Regions from separate parts of the Homo sapiens genome. Here all the other regions are linked to region 1. The links are contacts of gene promoters, found by promoter capture Hi-C in blood cells and fetal thymus (Javierre and others, 2016). All regions are on one chromosome and are shown on one strand. Each heading gives the region's core, a stretch centred on a gene start or on the middle of the fragment in contact. The rest is flanking DNA. Distances are from core to core; before and after follow the strand shown.

Region 1 (4,431 bases), core at 1,810-4,309:
GCAGGTCTGTGTTGACTGCTAAGGCATCCAGGCTCAGGGATGGGAGGGGGCTGGTCAGAGAGCTGGGCAGCAGCGGGGAGAGGGGGAGGGCCGGGAAGGGGCATGGCCCCCACACTCTATGAATCAACTTCCCTGGCCTGGGTCGGGGAGGGCCCAGAGGACCCACCATCTTTGAATAAGGGGTGTTATCTCCATAATCTTGAGGAAGGAGGAAAGACCTGTTGATACCTACTGAGATTCCATTTAAAAAACTGCTACCTGTTACCTGAGAGAGTAGGGGGCCAGCTCTGGCCAGGGCCCAACCAACCTGGCGAAGCAAAGGCAGGTATGCAAAGGCAGGAAGGTGAAGGCAGTCGGGCGGTGGTTGAGAGTCACTGAAGACAAACTTAAGATGTCTCACGGGGCTTAGCCAGGACTAGAAGGTAGCTATGGGGCCAGGCAGTGGGTGGATGCGGGGAAGTCAGTGGGCCCCTGCCCTGCCAGACATCAAGCTGGAAGCAGATGAAAGTGGGCCAAGAGGACAGATGGGGCAAGGGGTTCCAGCACTGCATGGCTGCACCTCTTACCAAGTTGGTCACTGGTTCTGTATCTCCCTTTCCCCATCTACAAGATGGGCGTGCTAGACTCAATGTGCCCAATGTTCTCAGCAGAAAAAAGTGAGAAGAGAAAGGAGGCTTCCCCCACAAACCACAGCCAGGCTCAGTGAGAAGATCAGAGGCCTGCCTGTCCTGCTCCCTCCCCAAGGCACCTCGCTGCCCAGCAGGTGCTCCGGAAACATCAGCCTCCTGGGTGCAGGATGAGCGCAATGGACTTACAGACCCCTGTTGCCCAGAGAGGGGCAGTGACTAGTACAAGGCCACACAGCTCTCAAGTTTAAGGGTCTGCTGGAGGCACACACCCCTTTCCTTCTCTCCCTCCCCATCTTTCTGCTGCCCGCCCCACTCACCCTGGGTGTGATGGGAAGGAAGTGACACTTCCTTTCATGAAAAGTCACCGACTGGGAACACTGCGTCAATTACCACAATAATGGTAACAGCAGCCTCAATAACAACCAGCAGACGCCGCCCCGCCCCCTCGGCTGAGGTTGTTGGCTTAAGTTTCTCTAAGCTTGAGCTGGAGCAAAACAAAGACAGCCTTTGAAGCGGCGAAACGGCCGGTCCACTCGGCAGCCCGGGAGCGGCGGCCAGGCCGAGTCTACGCGAGCTTGCTCCAGCAGTTTGGGGAGGGGGGCCTGCCAAGTGTTGAGCTGGAGCCAGCAGTGAGAAGAAACGCGATGGGCCTGGGACCCCCACTCCCTAACAGGGCACAGGTGCAGCTCAAGCCACAGCCCAACCTCAGTACCTCAGCTTGGGGGAGGGCGAGAGAGACAGGGTCTGGGGGCAGCTGAGGCCACAAGAGCCACCAGAGGGTACAGAAAGGGAAGGAGGTGCGGGGGACACTGAATGTGAGGCTACCAACTTCCAAGCCCCATTCTCCCTGTCCCTCTTACCGGGCTCTGGGATGTCCTAAAAGCCCCAGTTCCAGGATGGGACTGTCCCTCCCCACGGAGTCTGGGCCACATTTGGTGGTGACGGACAGTGAGAGCTCCTCAGATGGTTTCGTGTGTTCCCATTTCACCTACGGGGCAGAGGCTCAGAGGTGCCAGTTGACGTCTCTCAACTGTAGAAGCAGATTATCGGAGGCCCTTTCTACCTCTGCCACACCAAGTTCTAGGCCCCAGGCGGGTCCCTAAGGCCTGGATTGGGCTCTGAGCTCTGCTGCGGGGTGAAGCCCTCGAGCCCCGACCTCCCACCCCTCCTGTGCTCTAGCGTTGCCTGTAGGCGCAGTGACGCCACCGTGCGTGTGGGCTCCCACCAGAGGAGCCCGGGTGGGGCAAGAGGCACCTGTTGTCCTCCCCTGGGGCCCGCGGAGCACTCCTTACTGGCCCAAGACTCTGCAAACAAAGGGACACTGGACCCGCAGCGCCTTGGGACCCCCTGGGCCCTCGGGGGTCCTGCACCGCGCAAGCCCCACCACGCCGGCGCTGGGCGGAGGGTGACGCGACCCCAGCCCGGGCGACCCCTAGACACCGCGGAGGGACGGAGCGCGGGCCCGGGTTGGCCCGCAGCTCCCGCCGAGCGCGAAGCCGGGCATCGCCTGCAAGCTCGTAGCCCACGCTCTTGCCCTCTTCCCCTGACGCTCCCCAGCCGCCACCCCGTCCCTTCTGCAGACCGAGGGAAGACAAGGGGACACACAAGGGACAGGAGAGGAGAGCAACCAGGGAAGCGACCCCTCTCCTGTGGGGCTGCGGCGGGTGGGCGGAGAGACAGGAGAGGAAAAGAGAAAAGGGAAGAGAAGGAAGGGGCAGGGGGCGAGAAGCCGGGCTCCCCGGACCATCGGCGCAGCCCGCGGCCGAAAGAGGAACAGTGGATCCTACAAAGCGCATTGAGCAAGTTCTTCACACCCGCGCAGCCCCTTTCAGGAAACGGCGGCCGCAGAGGAAAGGGCCGCGCGCTCTGGACCCGGAGTCTGTGCCCGGCGGCGCCGCGGTTCTGAAACCTGCGGGATGTCACGGGGCGGAGGGGCGGCTGCCGACAGCTGTCACAACAAATTAGCTGAGCCCAGCTCGAGGTGGAAACCGCAGCAGGAAGTGGGACGACAGAGCCGTACCGGGCTCGGCATATTTCAGGCAAGAGACGGCGAAAAGAGTTTCGAGATAAACGCCCGGGAAGCCCCTGGCCGCCAAAACTTTTTGTCTTTCCTTTTCTCGAAGCTCGCGCGGACGCCCAGCCTCACCCCTTCCGCGCCGGCCGGGGAGCGCTGAAGCCGCGGGCCGGGCTCGCTCCCCTTGGCCCGCGCCCCGAAACCCACCCCGGGCCCCTCTCCGCCCCACACAGCGCACCGACTGCCACGAGGGCTGGAGGGGACCCGGCGCCGGCACCTTGAACCTCCCTGCAGGGCCGCCGAGCCCCTGTCCGGGCCGCGCCGCAGAGCCGCTTACCCATGGCCCGGAGAGGTCCCGCGGCGCCCGCCCCGAGACCCTCAGCGCGCGGCTGTCCGGACCCCGCGCTCTCTGAGATACTGGCTCGCGGCGCGGCCCGCCGGCCACCTCCCCGCAGTCCCGCCCCGTCCCGCCCCTGCTCGCCCCACTCCGGGCTCCCATTGGTAAGCCCGGCTTCGTCGCGCGGAGAAGGCGGGGGGCGGGGACCGCCCTTGAGTCCGGGGACCTCTGGGAATTGTAGTGCGCGCCCCTCGCCTCTAGGCTTTCAGACTGGAGCCCCTGGAATAGGCTCCTCACCTAGAGGAGCGGAGGCAGGACCCTCAGTAATCATTGCTGCCTTGTGCCTCAGTTTCCCTGGAGGCAAAACTAGAGCCTTGGAAAAAGCCTCCTTGCTTTCAGCAGAGCACTGAGGACTCTGTGGAGCGAGCAAAGTGCTTCTGACTTTGATTTGAAAGTGGCCCTGTGCATTTCCCAGTCCCCACCTAGCCCAACAAAGAAGGCCAGGTGAGGCCGGGAGCGGCGGCTCACGCCTGGAATCCCTGCTTTGGGAGGCGGAGGCGGGAGGATCACTTGAGCCCAGAAGGTCGAGGCTGCAGTGTGTTTTGATCACACCACTGCACTCTATCCTGGATCCTGGGCAATAGACGGAGACCCTGCCTCAAAAAAAAAAAAAAAAAAAAAAAAAAAAAAAAAAAGGAGAGGTGGTTAGTGTGAGCTAGACAAGGACCAAACTAGTAAATCCTTGGCCTAGGCTCTGTGGCCAGGCCTGCCAGTAATAGTCAATGTCCACACACATAATGCAGACAGAGTGTGGCAGCTACAAGCTGAGTAGTCCAAAGAAGGGGCATGAGTTCAGGCTGTGGGAGGTGGGAATGAGGCCTAGGGCGAATGGAGGCAGGAGGAGGTGCCCAGCCAGCCATAGCAGCAACCTGGACCTGTGCAGGCCAAAGAGGAAGAAATGGAGGCTCAGGGTTTCAGTCTCAGCAGGTGGCTAGCTAGGATGGGAACCCTGTTCCTAGCACATAGAAGCTACACAAAAATCTTTGTTGATGAATTTTAATACTCATAATAGCTCTATGCACTTGACACCATCATTGTCCTCATTTTATAGCGTAAAACTGAGGTCTGAGAGATTAGCTCAAGTAGCACAGCTGGTAGGTGTTGGAGCCAGAGCTAGACCCAGGAAGAGGAGCCCTCATACCCAGGCATCCCCCCACCCGCTTTGCACCCATTACTAACCACTCATCATACTGGTGCCCCTCCTCACACTAAACGAAGGGACCAGGGCTGCAGTTTGGTGAACCTGAAACCCTGGCCCTTACCCTTTGGCCCTGGGATGGAAGATGTCTGCAGGCTCAGTCTAGAGCAGACGACCCTGTGGGCTCTGCAGGATAAATCCCCTGTCTACCTCATAATGGGTTGGCTTGTAAGAGCCAGCACCTGTAGAATTG
Region 2 (4,276 bases), core at 405-2,904, 250 kb after region 1:
ATTGACAAGTACTGGGACCCCACGCGCCCTACCGGCTAGTCCTGAGAGAAGCTCTGAGGCCAACTGCCTAGAGAAGCCAGGGATATTAACCCCTGGTGATGGCATCTGTTCTCCTCATTACCTTGTTTTGCCTCTGTAGGTTTTAGTTTCCACAGCAACTCTAGCTTGGGGTGTGAATCTCCCTGCACATACAGTCATCATCAAAGGCACCCAGGTGTACAGTCCAGAGAAGGGGCGTTGGACAGAACTGGGAGCACTGGACATTCTGCAGGTACAGAGCCTTTTGAGTTTATTCTCAGCAGGGATCAGTATCCTTGCCTGAAATGCAGGGATGCTGGAAAGCTAGCAGATCAGAGGTCTAGTTCTGTAATGTAGATACCTGCATCAAAATTCAGACATTCTCTTGACATAGCATTCTTGGTTCGCTGTCTCTGATCTAGATGCTGGGACGTGCCGGAAGACCCCAGTATGACACCAAGGGTGAAGGCATACTCATCACATCTCATGGGGAGCTACAGTACTACCTGTCCCTCCTCAATCAACAACTTCCTATTGAAAGCCAGATGGTTTCAAAGCTTCCTGACATGCTCAATGCAGAAATCGTGCTAGGAAATGTCCAGAATGCCAAGGTAGGGGAGGACTGCTTGTTGTGCTTCATGCTTTCCCCGCAGACACCAAGGCACCAGGAGTGGGTCGGTCCCTATTGTGCTGCGGGCCAGCAGCGTCCGAGGCCTTCCATCCCTGCACCCACATCTTGGGTCTGGCAGATAGTTCCCCTTGTTACCAAGATCTTAGAAGACGCTTAGATCTTTTTAATAATGAAATGCTAAAAACATTCAGAATACGATGTAATATGCATCCTTGTAGTTGGGAATTAATTTCTAAGCAATTCATGGGAGCCTGTCATTTGGACATCAAGAGTTTCTCCATGCTAAGAACCATGAGCTGTGTCTTGTAGGATGCGGTGAACTGGCTGGGCTATGCCTACCTCTATATCCGAATGCTGCGATCCCCAACCCTCTATGGCATCTCTCATGATGACCTCAAGGGAGATCCCCTGCTGGACCAGCGCCGACTAGATCTGGTTCATACAGCTGCCCTGATGCTGGACAAGAACAATCTGGTCAAGTACGACAAGAAGACGGGCAACTTCCAGGTGCGTGGGGTGAGGGTTTTGAGGCAAAGGTCTCAGCAAAAGTTGTTGGCCCAGGAAAAAATTTTTCAGATTGCTCTCTTGATGTGAGTACTGCCTATCTAATCACCTGTTGCTTAGAACAGCAGAAAAATGGGTAGCTTTTCCCATAACTTGAGGTGGATAATTCAGCTGTCTTGTCCGTGCAGACATCATTTCACTATGGGTCAGCTTATTCTGCTGTTTTTCTTCATGTGCCTGGGCCTGGCACTTGTACTGCTGTGACTTCATCCAGTTGTCCTATTAGGACAATAATGACATTGGGTCATATACTTTACCAAAAAAAAAGTACAAAAAACCTATAGGACAGTAACTTATGGTCCACAGTTAGAGGTTGGAGCTCATTAATAGTCAGCACTGGATTGAGTCTACCTTCTCTCCAGGTGACAGAACTGGGCCGTATAGCCAGCCACTACTACATCACCAATGATACAGTGCAGACTTACAACCAGCTGCTGAAGCCCACCCTGAGTGAGATTGAGCTTTTCAGGGTCTTCTCATTGTCCTCTGAGTTCAAGAACATCACAGTGAGAGAGGTGAGCCTATGCAGCATGATGGGGCGGGGAGTTGGTGCTCACCAAGTCACTGAATGGTGTCCCTCCTCGGCCACAAGGCTTTCCCTTGACCTTTTCCTCCTTGTGGCAGGAGGAGAAGCTGGAGCTGCAGAAGTTGCTGGAGAGGGTGCCTATCCCTGTAAAGGAGAGCATTGAGGAACCCAGTGCTAAGGTGAGCTCCTCTCCTCTTTGCTTTGATAAGGATGAGGATTAAGTGGTTTTCATAATCTTCTAAAAGATGAACCTTGAATTTGGGTTCATGTGTGGTTTCCTGCTCAGTTCTCCTAGTTTTTGCAGCCTTCTCGCATGTTCTTTTTATATGAAATAACAATTATTTAGTATTTGTAAATCAAGACCTGTAGCAAATCTCACCTGGCCTGGATGCTCAGAGCAGAAATGTAATTCCCTTTCTTGGACTGTTCAGTGATTGGTCTCCTGCTGGCTGATTTTGCTTCTTTACAGATCAACGTTCTTCTGCAAGCCTTCATCTCACAGCTGAAATTGGAGGGCTTTGCACTGATGGCTGACATGGTGTATGTCACACAGGTGAGAGCGGAGTTGTATGGCAGCTGTGAGAAGGGGCCTGAACAGTTCAATCCCTGTGTGCTGTGTGCATCCTGGGGAAAGGAGGCCCGACCCTAGTGAGATGGGAGGAGTGCTTAGTTCTGCTCTTGCCGGGTAGTTGGTTGGTGCATGTGTGGTACAGCCACTCTGTAGTATACATCTTGAGCACGTGGGAAAGGTAAGACCTTAAGAGGGAATGCTTCGAGGCTCCACGGGCCCTCAGAGAGACAGGAAGAGCCACAGCACGCAGTGTCTGCTTCCCAGCAGCAAAGTGATTTCCCACTGTTGCTGCACAGCTCATAAATAAATCCAAAAATGGCACAGGGTTTTATTAGCTGCTCTTCATCTTTACCTCTAAGAACAGGTCACTGGTACCCTCAACTCTTCCTAGAACTCTAAATGCTAAATGACTCAAAAGCTTTAAAATCATGCAGTGAATGTTAGGTTAAAATGTTGTGCAGTGACCTTGAGCCGCAGCACTCTTCTAATTGTTCCCCATCCGGCAAGCATCTACTATATGGAACGGAGAAAGGCGTAAAGACAGAGGGGACTTTGCCTTTGAGTTAGGGTGGGTGGTTGTGTCAGAGCTGGAGGTAATGAAACCGTGTGTAGAGTGGCTCATGAGGCCTGGGGATAGTCGAGACTTAACAGTGGGAATGCTGCTTCTTTGCTTAGTCGGCTGGCCGGTTGATGCGAGCGATATTTGAAATTGTCCTGAACCGAGGTTGGGCACAGCTTACAGACAAGACCCTGAACCTCTGCAAGATGATCGACAAACGCATGTAAGGACCCAGTGAGCTGGATGCTGGTCACCATGAGTGGGGGTCCCCAACCCAAGGGTCTGATGGGAAAGCCTCAGGGTGCATCTGATCTCCAGACCTGACATCGGAAGTATGACCTGAACCTTGGTGCACATTGAGAAGAGGGAAGGCCCTCTGTGGTGGAGGCCAGGGCTGGCACAGTGTCAGTGTCTGCCTTTAATGACTGTGTTTTGTGTAGTCACTGCTAAACTATTGGAAGCCATGAAGTGGGTGGTTTGTCACATCCCTGCAGAAGGGACCAACAGCTTTGCCTCCTTCCTGGATAGGTGGCAGTCCATGTGTCCTCTGCGCCAGTTCCGGAAACTCCCTGAGGAAGTAGTGAAGAAGATTGAGAAGAAGAATTTCCCCTTTGAGCGTCTGTACGACCTGAATCATAATGAGATTGGTGTGTGGGATGCTCTCGCCCTTGTCCTCACTGCCTGGGTGTCTCTCCCAGTTTGCCTATGTAGTCTTCCTGTTCCTAGGCCTGTGCATTAGTATCCTGTGTTCACTCCCCAAGTCCCACTGAAGTACAGGCTGGCCCTTGGTCTGGGGACTTGGAATCCTGGGCTCCACTGACCATAAAGGGAAGACCCTACCCCTTTCCCACAGTGGCCCTCAGGCCCAGTTTGCAGTATAGTAGGCAGGCTGGGCTGCAGCCTCAGTACTCTCATTTCCTTGTAGGGGAGCTTATCCGCATGCCAAAGATGGGGAAGACCATCCACAAATATGTCCATCTGTTTCCCAAGTTGGAGTTGTCAGTGCACCTGCAGCCTATCACACGCTCCACCCTGAAGGTGGAGCTGACCATCACGCCAGACTTCCAGTGGGATGAAAAGGTGAGGCTTTGCTGGGCAGAGGTGCTGGATTGGAGGTGCTCAGTCTACGTTGCTGGGCCGAGGAGATGGATTGGAGGCACTCAGTCTACGTTGACTCACATTCCTTTTACCCTTGCTCCTGTTGGCAGGTGCATGGTTCATCCGAGGCTTTTTGGATTCTGGTGGAGGATGTGGACAGCGAGGTGATTCTGCACCATGAGTATTTTCTCCTCAAGGCCAAGTACGCCCAGGACGAGCACCTCATTACATTCTTCGTGCCTGTCTTTGAACCGCTGCCCCCTCAGTACTTCATCCGAGTGGTGTCTGACCGCTGGCTCTGTGAGTGTC
Region 3 (4,013 bases), core at 54-2,553, 250 kb before region 1:
CAGACGTGAGCTGCCGCGCCAGGCCTATCTTTACTTTTTAAAAATTATTTTTATCTTTTTTTTTTCTTTATTTGAGACAGAGTCTCACTCTGTTGCCCAGGCTGGAGTGCAGTGGCGTGATCTCAGCTCATTGCAAGCTCCACCTCCTGGGTTCACACCATTCTCCTGCCTCAGCCTCCTGAGTAGCTGAGACTATAGGCGCCCGCCACCATGCCCGGCTAATTTTTTGTATTTTTAGTAGAGATGGGGTTTCACCATGTTAGCTAGGATGGTCTGGATCTCCTGACCTCGTGATCCACCGCTTCAGCCTCCCAAAGTGCGTGAGCCACTGCGCCTGGCATTTTTATCTTTTTTTAGAGACAGGGTCTCTCTCTGTTGCCCAGGCTGGACAACAGTGGTACAATCATAGCTCACTGCAGCCTAGAGTTCCTGGGCTCAAATAATCCTCCCACCTCAGCCTCCAGAATAGCTGGGACTACCGGCACATGCTACCACGCCCAGCTAATTTTTTTATGTTTTCTTTTTTGAGACAAAGGTCTCATTCTGTGGCCCAGGCTGGAGTGCAGAGTGACACGATCACAGCTCACTGTAGCCTCGGCCTCCTGGACTCCACTGATCCTCCCACCTCAGCCTCCCAAGTAGCCTGGATTACAGGCCATCATGCCTGGCCAACTTTCGTATTTTTTGTAGAGATGGGGTTTCGCCATGTTGCCCAGGTTGGTCTCAAACTCTGGGGCTACAGGAATCCTCCTGCCTCAGCCTCCCAAAGTGCTAAGATTACAGGTATGAGCCACTGCACCTGGACTTCGGTTTTACTTCTTTAAATTTTTTCTGTGTTCATTCTATAATACATGTACTAGTATAACAGCACATGTACATAATTTTTGATTGAATGGAGGCACAAACTAAAAAGAAAAAAAAAGGTTTTAAAATAGGGGCAAGATGAAAAGCTTGAAGAGCTCCCTTTAGAATACCCCGTAAATGCTGGGCACAGTGGCTCATGCCTGTAATCCCAGCACGTTGGGAGGCTGAGGCAGGAGGATCATCTGAGGTCAGAAGTCTGAGACCAGCCTGGCCAACATGATGAAATCCTATCTCTACTAAAAACACACAAATTAGCTGGGCGTGGTGGTGCCCACCTATAATCTCAGCTGCTCAGGAGGCTGAGGCATGAGAATCGCTTGAACCCGGGAGGCAGAGGTTGCAGTGAGCCAAGACTGCAACACTGCACTCCAGCCTGGGTGACAGAGCCAGACTCTATCTCAAAAAGAAAAAATAGCCCCATAAAGATAGCTATGCCTCAGTTGCCTCTTCGCACAGGACATGGTCAACCTCCCCCTGCCACCAACCTGTCTGGGTGACCATGTTCCCAGGAGAGAGTTGCCCTACATCTACTGTCAATCCCACTCTTCCTAGGAGGAAGCTAAGGCCCAGAGAAGTCATGCCCAGGGTCACACCCCAAGGGGTGATCAGGCTGGGATACAGAAATGGGACTTCTGCTACAGATAGCCTTCTTCCTTTAATACAAGCCCATAGTGGGTGAAGCTATTGACAAACTGATGATGGGGACTCTAAGACTGGCCCCTCACCCTGGGGACAGGTCTTTATGCCTCTGATTTTCCATTTAGCTAGTAGTCTCTAGATTTTTAAGCTTTTACTATGGAAAATATCAAGCATCTACAAAAGTAGAGATAATAATCTAATTACACCCTCACCTAACAATTAACAGCTCCTCATGACCAGCCTTTCTTCCTCGCTACTCCCACTTGCTCTACTCACTGATTTTGAAGCAAAGCCCAGGTTTTATCTGTAAACATGTATACATTTTACCTGAAAATATTTAGTATTTCAATATGTATCTCTAAAAGATAAGGACTTTTTTTTTCTTTTTTTTTGAGACAAGGTCTTGCTGCCACCCAGGCTAGAGTGCAGTGGCACGATCCTAGCTCACTGCAGCCTCGACCTGCTGGGCTCAAGTGATTCTCCCGCCTCAGCCTCCTGAGGAGCTGAGGCAACAGGCATGAGCCACTGCACCCAGCTAATTTTATTTTATTTCATTTTATTTTATTTTCGTAGAGACAGAGTTTTTTTCTGATATCGGTAACAAAAGTGGAAGGAAGAAAACTAAGATCACTTATAATCCTGCCTTCCAAAGATAACTACTGTTAACTGTGTATTTTCTTTGGTGTTTTAAAATGGATATATATAGATAAAATATTTCCACCACAAATTGGATCACATATATTGTTTTGTACGCTGCTTTTTAAATTCTTTACATTCTTTGTATTTTCCCATGTCACTAAAAAGTTTTATAAAAAACAGAATGACTTCATAACATGTCATTGTACAGATGCATACACAATCCCAGTCCCCATTGGGCTCTTAAATTGTGCCTTCTCCCCGTTTTTGCCATATGAATATCCTTGTGTATAAATATATGTAACTGTATCTCCATGTCCTTAAGATAGGAGTCAAAGAAAGGGTTTTGTGTGTTTAACTTTCTGAAGTTCCCTAATAAGTCAGTTCAGACTTAATGCTTCCTAGAAGACACAGTCAGGACAATTAGGAAATCAGGCATCAGGAGACCAAAAATGGCAGGTTTCAGAAGCTACGGCTGTCAGAAAGCAAGGAGAAAAACAAGGAACTTGAGCCATCTGCTGAAGAAAAAGAACATGAAGTGGAGAGAGGAGTGAACTGTGTCCCACCCAGACGCTGGTCCCTGGGAGCAGGATCTCTCCGTGGCCAGGAGGTGCAGGGGGTCCCAGCAGTCCTACCAGCACCATCAGCGTCCTTCTGAGTTCAGACCCTTCCAGCAAACTGCTTCTTCCTTTCCACCCAGTCCGTATTCTCAGAAGCACCTCTGGCATTTTCTCCTGGAACTGCAGAGCTGGAAGCATGGCTCACAGCCATCTCGCCCCTGCCCCAGCATCCCCTACCAGAGGTGGCAGGGAACCCCTTCCCCGCTGTACCTTTGCTCAATTGCTTACAGAGAGGCACAGCTCACTCATGGCCTTGTGAGGCTCCATTCTTTGAACCTTTTTGGCAACCAGCTAATAATCCACAGGCAAATCAACCTAAAAGTGAGACCATTAATTTTTTTTTATTTATAATTTTTAAAATAGAGACAGAGTCTCACATGTTGACCAGGCTGGTCTTGAACTCCTGACCCCAAGAGATCCTCCCGCATTGACCTCCCAAAGTGGTAGGATTACACGTGTGAGCCCCCATTCCCAGCGTGGACCACTATTAAAGAGCCCACAGGTCCCATGTTGATCCTAAAGACTTAACCGAAATTCTGTTAAATACTTTGCTGAAATACATCTATTCTGGGACTAGCTTTCCATTGCACTAACCTAGTAATCCTACCCTCCCCAACATACACAAAAGAAATGAAAATTAGCTTTTTTTCCCCTTAGTAAACCCCAGTTGGTTCCTGGTCATCATATACTGTTTCCAAATGTTTACAAACTACTAAAATCATTCCAAGGAATCATTGATGTCAAACAGAGAGGAAAACTATAGCAACAGTTGAGGTGATGCCAGAGGCTGATACTGGTTGTTAGGTGTAGGAACAGAAGGGGAGGAAGAGGACAAGAATATTACTTGCTCACTATCAAACAATTATTTTTCCTGCCATTAAAGAAAAAAAAATGATATGGTATCTTTCTTCAGTTTAACAGCGGGAAAACAATTATAGTCTCATCTGTCTCATGAGCATAAATGCCAAAATTCTTTTTTTTTTTTTTTTGAGACAATGTCTCACTCTGTCGCCCAGGCTAGAGTGCAATGGTGCAATCTCAGCTCACGGCAACCTCTGCCTGTCAGGCTCAAATGATCCTCCCACCTCAGCCTCCCAAGTAGCTGGGACTACAGGCTCATGCCACCACACTCAGCTAATTTTTTTATTTTCAGTAAAGACAGGGTCTTCTGGGCTCAAGCAATCCATTCGTCTCAGCCTCCCAAAGTGCTGGGATTACAGGCATGAGCCACCACGCCTGGCCGATGCCAAAATC

The links. The method cuts DNA at HindIII sites, captures the fragments that hold promoters and counts their contacts. A CHiCAGO score of 5 or more calls a contact.
Region 2: a contact is called between a fragment that was not itself captured here and the fragment with the promoter of ARID5A in region 1, in 2 of 17 cell types (total CD4 T cells and naive CD8 T cells). The highest score is 5.4, in total CD4 T cells.
Region 3: a fragment that was not itself captured here is called in contact with the fragment with the promoter of ARID5A in region 1 in 1 of 17 cell types (M0 macrophages); the score reaches 5.3 in M0 macrophages.

The regions. Positions count from the first base shown.
Region 1 is chr2:96,535,380-96,539,810 of GRCh38, reverse strand. It overlaps ARID5A (AT-rich interaction domain 5A), which reads right to left and starts at 3,059. Exons shown (of 7, transcript NM_212481.3): 1 at 2,981-3,059. The coding sequence starts at 2,984. RefSeq lists enhancers at 738-1,283, 1,501-1,620 and silencers at 1,891-2,100, 2,781-3,140. The HindIII fragment of the contact is 5,212 bases long and covers 1,110-4,431 here.
Region 2 is chr2:96,286,679-96,290,954 of GRCh38, reverse strand. It overlaps SNRNP200 (small nuclear ribonucleoprotein U5 subunit 200), which reads left to right. Exons shown (of 45, transcript NM_014014.5): 19 at 140-271; 20 at 441-629; 21 at 959-1,156; 22 at 1,576-1,728; 23 at 1,838-1,918; 24 at 2,209-2,292; 25 at 2,986-3,092; 26 at 3,398-3,516; 27 at 3,795-3,949; 28 at 4,078-4,267. Among named protein-coding and RNA genes, the nearest start is that of SNRNP200, 17 kb to the left of the region's middle. The HindIII fragment of the contact is 2,153 bases long and covers 578-2,730 here.
Region 3 is chr2:96,782,147-96,786,159 of GRCh38, reverse strand. All of the region lies in intron 1 of CNNM4 (cyclin and CBS domain divalent metal cation transport mediator 4), which reads right to left. Among named protein-coding and RNA genes, the nearest start is that of MIR3127, 14 kb to the left of the region's middle. The HindIII fragment of the contact is 701 bases long and covers 953-1,653 here.